2 separate regions of the Homo sapiens genome follow, and region 1 is linked to region 2. Evidence: promoter capture Hi-C in human tissues and cell types (Jung and others, 2019). All regions are on one chromosome and are shown on one strand. The core of a region is centred on a gene start or on the middle of the fragment in contact, and the rest is flanking DNA. Distances in the headings are between cores, read along the strand shown.

Region 1 (5,693 bases), core at 427-2,926, 240 kb after region 2:
GTCTACCCCTGCTGATTGACCCACCAAGCATAGTGTTAAGCTGCCCCCATGCCTTCCACACCTTAAAGAACTCACAGTCTTGGGTAGTATTTCTCAAACTCTGAGTACCATCTTCCCATATTTCGCTACAGGTACTATCATTTACTTAATACTTTTATTTTTTAGAAGGGGTCTCACTCTGTCGCCCAGGCTAGCGTGCAATAGTGCCATCATAGCTCACTGCAGCCTCAACCTCCAGGGCTCAGGCGATCCTCCCACCTCAGCCTCCAGAGTAGCTGGGACTACAGGCATGTGCCACCAGGTCTGGCTAATTATTAAACATTTTTTAGAGACAAGAACTTGCTTTGTTGCGCAGGCTGGCCTCAAACTCCTGGCTTCAAACAATCCTCCTGACTCAGCCTCCCAAAGTGCTGAGATGACAGGCATGAGCCACTGTGCCCAGCAAATACTTAATATTTTTCTTTAGAGTAACTAATTTTTTTACCTGCAGTAAGTTTGCTCCTAAGGGAGTCTATGTACCCCTGTGCAATTATCTTAATAGATGGAATGTGATAATCACATATTTTTCTAATGCACATCAAAATCAATACTAAACTATTAAAATGTTTAAAATGCCTGTTCACATATCACCAAACGGCATCTCGTGGGCCAGCCCTGGAATGAGCTGCCTTCAGGGAAACACTGATTATATTGAGGAGGTTTGACTTACACAATGTGCAAGGATAATTATAACATAAAGCAGGGCTGGTCATGTTTGAGACCAGTGTGAGGCCCTCACTTAAAAGGCCTCACGTTTGGGGTTTAATGCTCTGAGTTGATTATCTTGAATGTTTTTTACCCTGAGATGGAGTTTCGCTCTTGTTGCCCAGGCTAGAGGGGAATGGCAAAGTCTCGGCTCACTGCAACCTCCGCCTCCCAGGTACAAGCAATTCTCCTGTCTCAGACTCCCAAGTAGCTCAGATTACAAGCACCTGCCACCATGCCCGGCTATTTTTGTATTTTTAGTAGAGACAGTGTTTCACCATGTTGGCTAGGCTGGTCTCAAATTCCTGACCTCAGGTTATCTACCCGCCTTGGCCCCCCACAGTGCTGGGATTACAGGCGTGAGCCACTGTGCCTGGCTTATCTTGAAATTTTTAATGATTTTCTCTTTGAGTTTGTGTTTTGTGAGTCGATGAGAGGATGAGGCGTGTGCTGGTGGTTTGGGCCTTGGCTTACGTGCCATCATGCCTTCTGCACCCTTCCAGGATGGGGTCTAGAGCATCACAGTCAGTAATGAGCCAAAGCTGGGTGACTAAATGAACAAATCAACTAATGAAAACATGGACACCCAGGAGCCTGAGCTTCTCCTTTTAAAATTTTGTTAAGTAGGACTGTTACTGATTAACCAGTTCACTCAAGATTAATGTATACACATTTTAGAAAAAATGATTAAAGAAATTAATTCCTTTAAAATATGTAGGCGGTGGCTCACACCTATAATCCCAGTACTTTGTGAGGCCGAGGTGAGTGGATCACTTGAGGTCAGGGGTTCTAGGCCAGCCTGGCCAACATGGTGTTTGTGTCTACTACAAATACAAAAATTAGCTGGGCGTGGTGGCGCATGCCTGTAATCCCAGCTACTCGGGAGGCTAAGGCAGGAGAATCTCTTGAACCTGGGAGGTGAAGGTTGCAGTGAGCTGAGATCGCGCCACTGCACTCCAGCCTGGGCGACAGAGCGAGGCTTTTTCTGAAAATAAATAAATAAATAATAAAATAAAAGATATAGAAGCTTGTTTTGGAATAACCTGCCTGCCCACTTTTTTGGGGCCTTTTTCTGACCAGGAAGTTCAGGCATGTGACCTGGAGACAAGCAAATGTACCACGTGATGTGAAGTGAACTCTCAGCCAGCCTTGGGCTTCCTTAGCCTGGGGACTGCATCCTCCAGGTGGTCTGAGATGACACTCTGTGACATGCATTTCTCAGGGTTTACCTTGTAGGGCTATGTGACTAGCAACTAGCAAGTCATACCCTTGGGAGGCCCTGGGTGAATACATGGCCAAATATTTATCATCAAAAGTTGCCAGCCCTTAGAGAAATGGCCTCCGTCTTCATCTTTCAATCAAATGTCACTTTATCAAACAACAGAGCCACAACATTTTTAAAAGGACAAAGACTGAAACGTCACCCATGACAAACATTTTGGAAACAAGATTTTCTAAAATGGAGAAAATAGAGGAACACATAGTTCGTGGTCATAGGCTGGCCACACCACCTGCCACTTCATTAGTCTTTGCCTGGGGACTTTTTGTTTCCTGATAATCATTAATATATATTTTTATGGGTTGTTTACTGGCTACATTTAATAGATGACAAAAAGGACAGTCTGAATATGTTGTTTTCCATCAACTGGAACATACCACTCACGTTTTCCGTATTTTGTATGAGAATCTTCATTCTGAAGTTTTGCAGTAAGCATTTTGAGTGAATGGACACATTTTAGGACTGACCACATAAATCAAGAGATGGATGTACATTCTTATTTCATTTTATTTTTTAGTTTTTAATTTTTTTTAGACAGAGTCTTACTCTGCCATTCAGGCTGGAGTGCGGTGGCAAGATCTCAGCTCACTGCAACCTCTGCCTCCCAGGTTCAAGCAATTCTCCTGCTTCAGCCTCCCGAGTAGCTGGAATTACAGGTGCGCACCACCACACCTGGCTAACTTTTTTGTATTTTTAGTAGAGACAGGGTTTCACCATGTTGGCCAGGCTGGTCTCAAACTCCTGACCTCAAATGATCCACCTGCCTCGGCCTCCCAAAGTGCTGGGATTACAGGTGTGAGCCACCATGCCCGGCCAGCATTCTTATTTTAGAAGTCAAAAATTCACACATCATTTTGCTTTCCAGATACACTCGGTGTTTCCAGTTCTTAGTACATTCTTCCAGATTTCGTCTGTGTTTCTGTGCAAGTGTGTGGCCAAGTGTGCGCATACCCACACTGTGCTGTCTGTTACTCACTGTGCCTCTTTCACTTGACTCTACCTGGGACATCTTTTCTCGTCAGTTCATAAAAATCTGTCTGATGAGAGGACTTTTTAAGATGACTCATCAGGCCAGGCGCAGTGGCTCATGCCTGTAATCCCAGCACTTTGGGAGTCTGAGGCAGGTGGATCACCTGAGGTCAGGAGTTCGAGACCAACCTGGCCAACATGGCGAAACCCCGTCTCTACTAAAAATACAAAAATTAGCTGCGTATGGTGTCAGGCACCTGTAATCCCAGCTACTTGGGAGGGTGAGGTAGGAGAATTGCTTGAACCTGGGAGGCGCAGGTTGCAGTGAGCTGAGATCGTGCCATTGCACTCCAGCCTAGGCAACAAAAGTGAGACTCCATCTCAAAAAAAAAAAAAAAAGACGACTCATCAGACACATTTTTGGGTCAGGCTCAAATGAAGTTCATGATTGCAAGGGTATTCTAGACTGACCCAAAGATTTTCTCCCCAACACCAAAAACTGGAAAACAGCCTGACAGTCATTAATTCCTGAGGGAACAGCTGACTCTTCTGAGACCATCTACTCTCTGCCCACAACCTCTCCTGCATACCCCAGCTGTGGCTCTGCTATTCATCCCAAATGTCCTGGCCAGGCCCACCCACTTGGCCAAAAAGTTGACTTCCCAGCCAGACCTGGTTGATCAATTGGCCACTATCCTTACAGGAAAAGTCTGAGTTATGAGAAAAAAAAAACTAATTTCTTCCAAAATATAAAAAGAAAACTGCATGATCAAAGTGAATAAATGTTTAATTAAATGCCTGCAAAGTGGAACACTATGTCAGCTTCCTTAATTGATACATTCAGTATTTTTAAAAATTTCATTACATTTGCAAAACAAATTGAAAGTAGCATTTCCTCCTTTGCAAGAATTCTTGAGGAGTGTGTGGTGATTGCCAAGAAATAACAAGTTGCTCATGTACTATTATTTTAAAAAGAAAAATTATCAAAACCATTTAAAAATATTTTGCAATATTAAAAATACACATGATCCTGATCTGATCACTATACATTAAATGTATCAAATCATCACTATGTATTCCATAAATATGTGCAATTATTATGTGTCAATTAAAAATAAACAAATAAATAATACACATATGTGTGCATATATGTGTATATACATACATATACTCAGTGTGGGCTGTTTGATGTGTTATTGGAACAAGGTCTTTAAAAGTAAGCTGAGGGGCACTTTGGGAGGCTGAGGCAGGCGGATCACAAGGTCAGGCAATCGAGACCATCCTGGCTAACATGGTGAAACCCCCTCTCTACTAAAAATACAAAAAATTAGCCGGGCGTGGTGGTACGCGCCTGTAGTCCCAGCTACTCGTGAGGCTGAGCTAGGAGAATCACTTGAACCCAGGAGGCGCAGGTTGCAGTGAGCCGAGATCATGCCACTGCACTCTAGCCTGGGTGACAGAGCAAGACTCCATCTCAAAAAAAATAAAAAAAAATTAAAAAATTAAAAAAGAAGCTGAGGGGCTGGGCGTGGTGGCTCACGCCTGTAATTACAGCACTTTGGGAGGCCATGGTAGATTAATCAGTTGATGTCAGTAGTTCCAGACCAGCCTGACAAACATGGTGAAACCCTATCTCTACTAAAAATACAAAAATTAGCTGGGCATGGTGGAGGGCACCTGTAATCCCAGATATTGGGAAGCTAAGGCAGGAAAATCACTTGAACCCAGGAGGCAGAGGTTGCAGTGAGCCCAGATCGCGCCACTGCACTCCATCCTGCGTGACAGAGCAAGACTCCATCTCAAAAAAAAAAAGTAAGCTGAGGGCTCAAGGGCCACACAGGTCTTCAAGAGGCCCAGCCCGGGATCCGCACACCCGAGAACCCTGTGCTGAGTCAGGATCCCCTTCTGTGGACACAAGATAGGAGTGGTGCTGTCAAGAGGAAGTTCTAAAAATAGACCCTAACATGTAGGGCAGAATATTAGTGGTTCTGAGAACTAGCAGAATCAGAGGCAGAAATGAGACATGTGACCAAAATGAAACCCCACAGCCCAAAGGGTATCTCCCTGGCTCCCCTGGGCCCTCTAGAAAAACTAGCAAAAAACTAGAAAAGCTAGTAAAACTCTTATCATTGGAGCCAGTGGCATTATTGGCCTCTATCCCCACTAAAATGTGAGTAACTTCAAAAGAAAATGCTCTTTTTTTCTTCCTCCAAAAACTTAAAGTGTAACATGTATAAAGAGAATGCATCTTTTTTTTTTTTTTTTTAAGACAGAGTCTTGCTCTGTTGCCCAGACTAGCATGCAGTGGCACAATCACAGCTCACTGCAGCCTCGACCTCCTGGGCTCAATCGATCCTCCCACCTCAGCCTCCTGAGTAGCTGGGACTACTTCCCTAGGGGTCCTAAGGAACCCACCCAGGGGTGTGCTGGGCAGTGTGTAACCACAGCTCTCTGAAAACAAAAGCCCTTAAATCCCTGATGGGTAGAATTGCCAGTTCTCATGGTGTCCCTACTCCCACCATGGTGACCAACATGAAGGTGTGGACGTGGAACTGTGAGGAGAGGAGCATGGTCAGCTTTTTTGAGCTGGTATGAGCTAGCTTCAGCACATCACTGCATCCCCCAGATGTGAAATCTGAGGAGTAAATATCCAGGAATTCAGAGAAATCCTGGGAAATTGGGCACGTCTTTCCTTTCTCAA
Region 2 (5,871 bases), core at 502-3,001:
TTGACATCCATCTCTTTGTCCTTTCCCAGCTACCCTGAGAAGGTTGGCTGGAAATATCCTCAAAGACAGAAAAGAGTGACGGTGGGAGGAAACGTCTTGCTCGTGGTCATGGGGTTCCGTCGTTGACAAACCAAGGCTCAACCGGGGCTGCTGGCTGGAGCTCCATGCTCCTGCCCCCAAAGCTATGCCCAGATCCCCATCCCACCTCCCAGCACCCTGCGTGCCATCTGCCTCCTCCACCCCTAGGCATTCTCCCATGGAGGAGAGAAGCACTCCACTCTGTGTGAGCCCTTGTGTTTTCATCAGAGTTCAAGGCCAGGGTCAAGGGTCCATCTTCTCCCAAACCACCTTGCTGGCTTTTAGTGTCCACCTTCCTTAAGGAGTAACAGTCACAGAGAAGGGACCAGCAAGGAGTGAAGCCCTGTTCTGAGCCTCGGAAGGGAGCGGCTGGGAAGCAGTCCTCTGGCAAGGACATCTGAGGGCCTACTAGTTTGACCCCTTCTTTCCAGAATCTCCAGTGGAATGGCACTGATGACTGAGGGTCTGGGGGGTCTACCTCTGCCCCTTGCCAATAACCGTGGGCACCTGCAAAGCTCTCACCTGGTGCCAGGCACTGCTCTGAGTGCCTTGCGCATACACGCTTTTCACACCGCCTGGGGAGGAAGGTACGATTATGACCCTCGTTTTACAGGTGAGGAAAGGGAGGCACAGAGAGGTTAAGTGACTTTCCCAAGGTCATTCAGTGAGTGGCAGAGCTGGGGTTTGAGCCCAGGAAATCTGCCTCAAGTAGCTGTTTTGCCTCAATAAATAATACTAACAACAACCACAGCTACCATTTGACGACCCGTTCCTATGTGCCTAGTGCTTTAATTCCTCAGAGCAATGCTGTGACTTAGGCGTTGTTCTCCGAATTTCTCATTTCACAGATGAGTAAATCCCGGTTTAGCAGGGCGCCTGGAGTGAGGTGACTGCGGAGGCTCGCAGACGTTAGGTCTGCCTAAATCCGAAGCTTCCACCCTCCTCTGCCTCTGTGACTTGCTGCGTGACTTTGGAGCTTTCGGAAACTCAGTTTCCCTGTCTTAAGCCCTCTGCTCCTCTTGCTTTCCCGCTCCAGCAAGTGAGAGTGGACTGGGTTGCCGTGCCGGGCGGGTGTGGGTCGCCGGGCAACTCCGGAGTCTCCCCTTCCCCATCGGCCCCCAGCAGAAGTCCCAGCTCCCGGCGTTTTCTGTCTCGTGGCGAGTTGGGGCGGAGGGAGCGGCGGGAAGGTGCCGGGTGGGCAAGGTCGGAGCTGCGTCACCGAGAGGCCGGCAAGGCCAGGGAGAAAAGGCCCCGCTGTGATTTGGGGAAGGGCCGGGGGCCCATAAGTCACGTGCTCGGGGCGGTTGTGCAGGAGCGGACTGTCCTCTGGGAACATAGAAGCGCCCCCGACTAGAGTAGGGGCGGGGAGGGAGCGCCGGAGGAGGCAGGTTCTGGGCCAAGGGGATGGGGGTGGGGGGGAGGTAGGGAGCCCGCGGACAAAGGAGGCGGCCGGCGGCCCAGCTGTTTTGAAAAATGCTTCCTGTTTCTTTAAAGGCGCTCGCGGCTCGGGCGGCCCGGGCTGGGGAGGCGGTGGCGGCGGGAGCTGCCTCCTCTCCGGGCGGCGGCGCTGACTGATCTCGCGAACTGGGCTTCTGTGTAAACTGAGGCTAAACAAACACAGATGGAGCGCAGCGGGCGTTCTCCAGAAATGCTGGCAAGGAGGCAGCGACTTCAGATGACACTCTGAGCGCTCCGGGAACGGACAGCCCGGCGGCTTCCCGAAGCCGGCGGCGCAGCTGCCCGGGGCGAGGGGGAGAAAGGGAGAGAGGGAGGGGGAGGGCGGGCGAAGCGGGAGAGCCAGAGACTCCTCGGCGCTGAGCGCGGCGGCGGCCCGGGCAGCCCCACGCCCCTGCCTCGCGCGCCGCCCGCGCCATGAAGCACATCCCGGTCCTCGAGGACGGGCCGTGGAAGACCGTGTGCGTGAAGGAGCTGAACGGCCTTAAGAAGCTCAAGCGGAAAGGCAAGGAGCCGGCGCGGCGCGCGAACGGCTATAAAACTTTCCGACTGGACTTGGAAGCGCCCGAGCCCCGCGCCGTAGCCACCAACGGGCTGCGGGACAGGACCCATCGGCTGCAGCCGGTCCCGGTACCGGTGCCGGTGCCAGTCCCAGTGGCGCCGGCCGTTCCCCCAAGAGGGGGCACGGACACAGCCGGGGAGCGCGGGGGCTCTCGGGCGCCCGAGGTCTCCGACGCGCGGAAACGCTGCTTCGCCCTAGGCGCAGTGGGGCCAGGACTCCCCACGCCGCCGCCGCCGCCGCCTCCTGCGCCCCAGAGCCAGGCACCTGGGGGCCCAGAGGCACAGCCTTTCCGGGAGCCGGGTCTGCGTCCTCGCATCTTGCTGTGCGCACCGCCCGCGCGCCCCGCGCCGTCAGCACCCCCAGCACCGCCAGCGCCCCCGGAGTCCACTGTGCGCCCTGCGCCCCCGACGCGCCCCGGGGAAAGTTCCTACTCGTCAATTTCACACGTAATTTACAATAACCACCAGGATTCCTCCGCGTCGCCTAGGAAACGACCGGGCGAAGCGACTGCCGCCTCCTCCGAGATCAAAGCCCTGCAGCAGACCCGGAGGCTCCTGGCGAACGCCAGGGAGCGGACGCGGGTGCACACCATCAGCGCAGCCTTCGAGGCGCTCAGGAAGCAGGTACCCGCTCGCCGCCGCACGCCCTCACTGCGCCGGGGGACGACTGCGGGAATGGGTGGGCGAGTGGCCGGGGCGGGATAGAGGTGTGTTTAAGGGGCAAGCTGCCCCGCCCGGTCCGACCCTGGTGCCCAGACAGGTGTGGGCAGTCCTAGGGTATGGATCATAGTTTTCAAAGTGGCTATAAGAGTTGGTTATCTCTGGCCCGAGCACCCCCCGCCCTCAACCCCCGCCTCGGGGGTAACGCTGTCTGCGCTTCTGACTTCAGCCTCCATAGTTCACTTTTATGGCAGCGAGTATTTGCCTGCCGGAGTCCCCTGGGCGCGGTGCGGAGTGGAGAGGGGAAATGTGGGAATCTGTCAGCGGAGGAAGGGGGGAGCCTTCTCCAGTTGGTGGTGGCAAGGTCCGGAACGCTGCGGTGGGACAGTCCGGGGGAGTTGTCAGCCCCTCTTCAGGCCCCAGCGGTGATGCCCCGAACACTCAGGTTGCTTCCGGGCTATGCACTCCTTGCCCTGGCATCCTCAAGAACCCGCGCTACAAGCCTGTGCCCTCTCCCCAGGGGTGGGCTCAGGAATCGGCTGGTGGGAGTCTTTCTAGCAGATCCCTTCCTTTCACCCGTGGTGAAGCAGGCAGCTCTGCCGAGGGGACTGCCTAGGTTGGGGATTCCCTCTGGAGCATCTTCAGAGCCTAGTTCTGGGGTGGGTCCGGGACTTTTTAGTTTGGGGCTGGTGCGGGCTGCCCTCACCAGACAGTGCCCCTGCGCAGGTAGCGGAAGAATACTTAACCCAAGAATTACCCGTGGTGGGGCGGGACAATCGCTTGGGCTTCTAGGCTTCTTATTTTCTTAGCGAGAAGGAGCTCTAGGAAGGAGGTGGTGAGTTCTCTCCCACCCCCACACAGGGCGTGGGGAAGGGTTAGGGTAGATGTGGCTGGTTTGAAGGGTGTTTTTTTTTTCTTTTTATTTGCATACTCTGCAGCTGACTTGCTGTGTGACTCCAGGAATGTTGCTCAACTTCTCTGGGCTTTATCCAGCAACAAAACATTTCAGAAACCATGATCTTCTTTTTGGATCACTCTCCTCTTCCTGCTGGGGGTTGGGGTGGGGTGGGGCAGTAGTGCCTGTGTCCATCCATGGAAAGGAAATTGAATCCTTGGAGGAAAGAGGCCCTATGACTTTTGAGCCAAAGTGTCTTGCTTGGGCTTGGGGAAAGTGGTCAGTGAGGTGGGGTGGGGGTGGGGGTGGGGGACGGGTGGCTGTCACAGACCAGGCTGGGCCTCTGCCCTCATCCACACCAGCTGGAACCCTGGGCGGTGGGTCCAGTGGAGCAGTCAGTCCCACCCTGAGCCAGCAGCTCTGTGTCTGCATCGCTGGGTAGAGGTGGCGGTGCGTGGGGGATCCTGCAACCCACTCCCCAGGACAGAAGGATAACAGAAGGGCAGAGAGATGCCTGTCCACCTGCCCACCTTGCCACTAGGGAAGCCCCTCCTAGACTGGGGAGGCACGTGCCCAGAGCCTCATAGCTGTTGAGTAGCAGGTCAGGGCTGGCACCTAGGGGCTTTGACTGCAGGTTCTGGGCCCTTGTGCTCCTCTATTGCCTCTGTATGCTGAGAGAATACTCATCTGAGTGCTTTGTTACATCTCATGTGCCCACTGACTTTTACTTCATTCAACAATCAATTCCATCTCATTTGATCTAAACATAATCCCTGTCGAAATTGGATTAACTCATTTTATAGTATGGAACACTGAGGCCCAGAGATGGAAGGAGACTTGTCCAAGGTCACCTAGTGGGTTAGGGAAGATAACAGCAGTTTCTGGAATGCCCTCCTGGCCAAATGCTTCCCACAGTGCCATCTGTATCAGCGTCATGTGCCACCCCCCCAGCCCCCAGCCTGTGATGTTTGTTAACAATCAAGGCAGGGTGCACACTTGGCAGACCCTTTGAGATGAGATTGTTCATCCTGGTCTCCTTTTACTTCCCCCCTTACCGTGGGAAGTTCTCTATAAAAAGGGCAAGTTCAGTGTATCTAAGTAGAAGGCACACCCATGCCCTCTCAGGGAGAGCGTGTGTATGCAATGCAAACACACAGGCAGGTACACACACACATGCTCCTTACACGTGCTCAAGAGCACACACAAATGCATGGTCACAGAAGCACCTGTTCCTGTTTGTTTCCTCCTTGCCCTAGCCATTCTGCCCCTTCCCCAGAAAGGCTGCCAGGCCATAGTGGGCACCTGCCTGTTAGCTGGGAAGGAAAGAAATACAGCCAGGACGTTTCTGGTCATAGAACCAGGGGCCAAGGCCACACCCACCATGTCCTCCTCACCACCATGGCACCCATTCGATAGAGGAAGTCCTGTGTTCTGGAGGAGCCCCTTCCTCCTCTGGGCCTCAGTCTTCTCTGTAAAATGTACTCCGCACCCCCTCCCCGAATCCAGACGAGCTGCAGCTCTGGAGCTAGGCTCGGGCCTGACTGAAATGGGTCCTTGGAAATGGACAAAAGGCAGATCAGCTCCGCCTGAAATGGGGCCTTGGCCAGTGTGGCACTGAGATGGGTTCTGGGATTGTGGCTCTGGCCTGGGGCTTCATTCTCCTGAGCAGCTTCCTGGTACCATGAAAGAAGCACTGATCTGGGAAACTGGAGGCCAGGCATTGAGTTGTTCCTCCCCTGCATGCCTTCTGTGTGGCTGTGGACAAGTCACTGACCCTTTCTGGGCCTCAGTTGCTGAAGTTGTAAAATGGTAATATTGCTGACCTCATCCAGTGTTGAGAAGAGAAAGTGAGGAAAGGTAGGAGGCCTATAAGAGCAGTGAACATTTCTTTCATTTCATTTTTTTTTTTTTTTTTGAGACAGAGTCTCTTTCTGTTGACCAGGCTGGAGTACAGTGGTGTGATCTCAGCTCACTGCAAACTCCACCTCCCAGGTTCAAGTGATTCTTCTGCCTCAGCCTCCCGAGTAGCTGGGATTACAGGTGCGCACCACCACACCTGGGTAATTTTTTGTATTTTAGTAGGGATGGGGGTTTCACCATGTTGCCCAGGCTGGCCTCGAACTCCTGGGCTGAGGTGATCCACCCACCTCTGTCTCCCAAAGTGCTAGGATTACGGGCATGAGCCACTGTGCACAGCCAGAGCACTGAACATTTCTTAAGCA

The links. Contacts are between HindIII fragments. The study calls those that stand out against the background at their distance.
Region 1: a fragment that was not itself captured here is called in contact with the fragment with the promoter of ATOH8 in region 2 in 1 of the 25 tissues and cell types used here (liver).

Annotation. Positions count from the first base shown.
Region 1 is chr2:85,989,212-85,994,904 of GRCh38, forward strand. All of the region lies in intron 2 of LOC105374843 (a long non-coding RNA gene), which reads right to left. Among named protein-coding and RNA genes, the nearest start is that of ST3GAL5-AS1, 100 kb to the left of the region's middle. RefSeq lists a cis regulatory region at 4,667-5,180 and enhancers at 4,921-5,110, 5,151-5,330. The HindIII fragment of the contact is 4,251 bases long and covers 1-3,802 here.
Region 2 is chr2:85,752,240-85,758,110 of GRCh38, forward strand. ATOH8 (atonal bHLH transcription factor 8) reads left to right here and starts at 1,752. Exons shown (of 3, transcript NM_032827.7): 1 at 1,752-2,718. The coding sequence starts at 1,951. The HindIII fragment of the contact is 12,393 bases long and covers 1-3,505 here.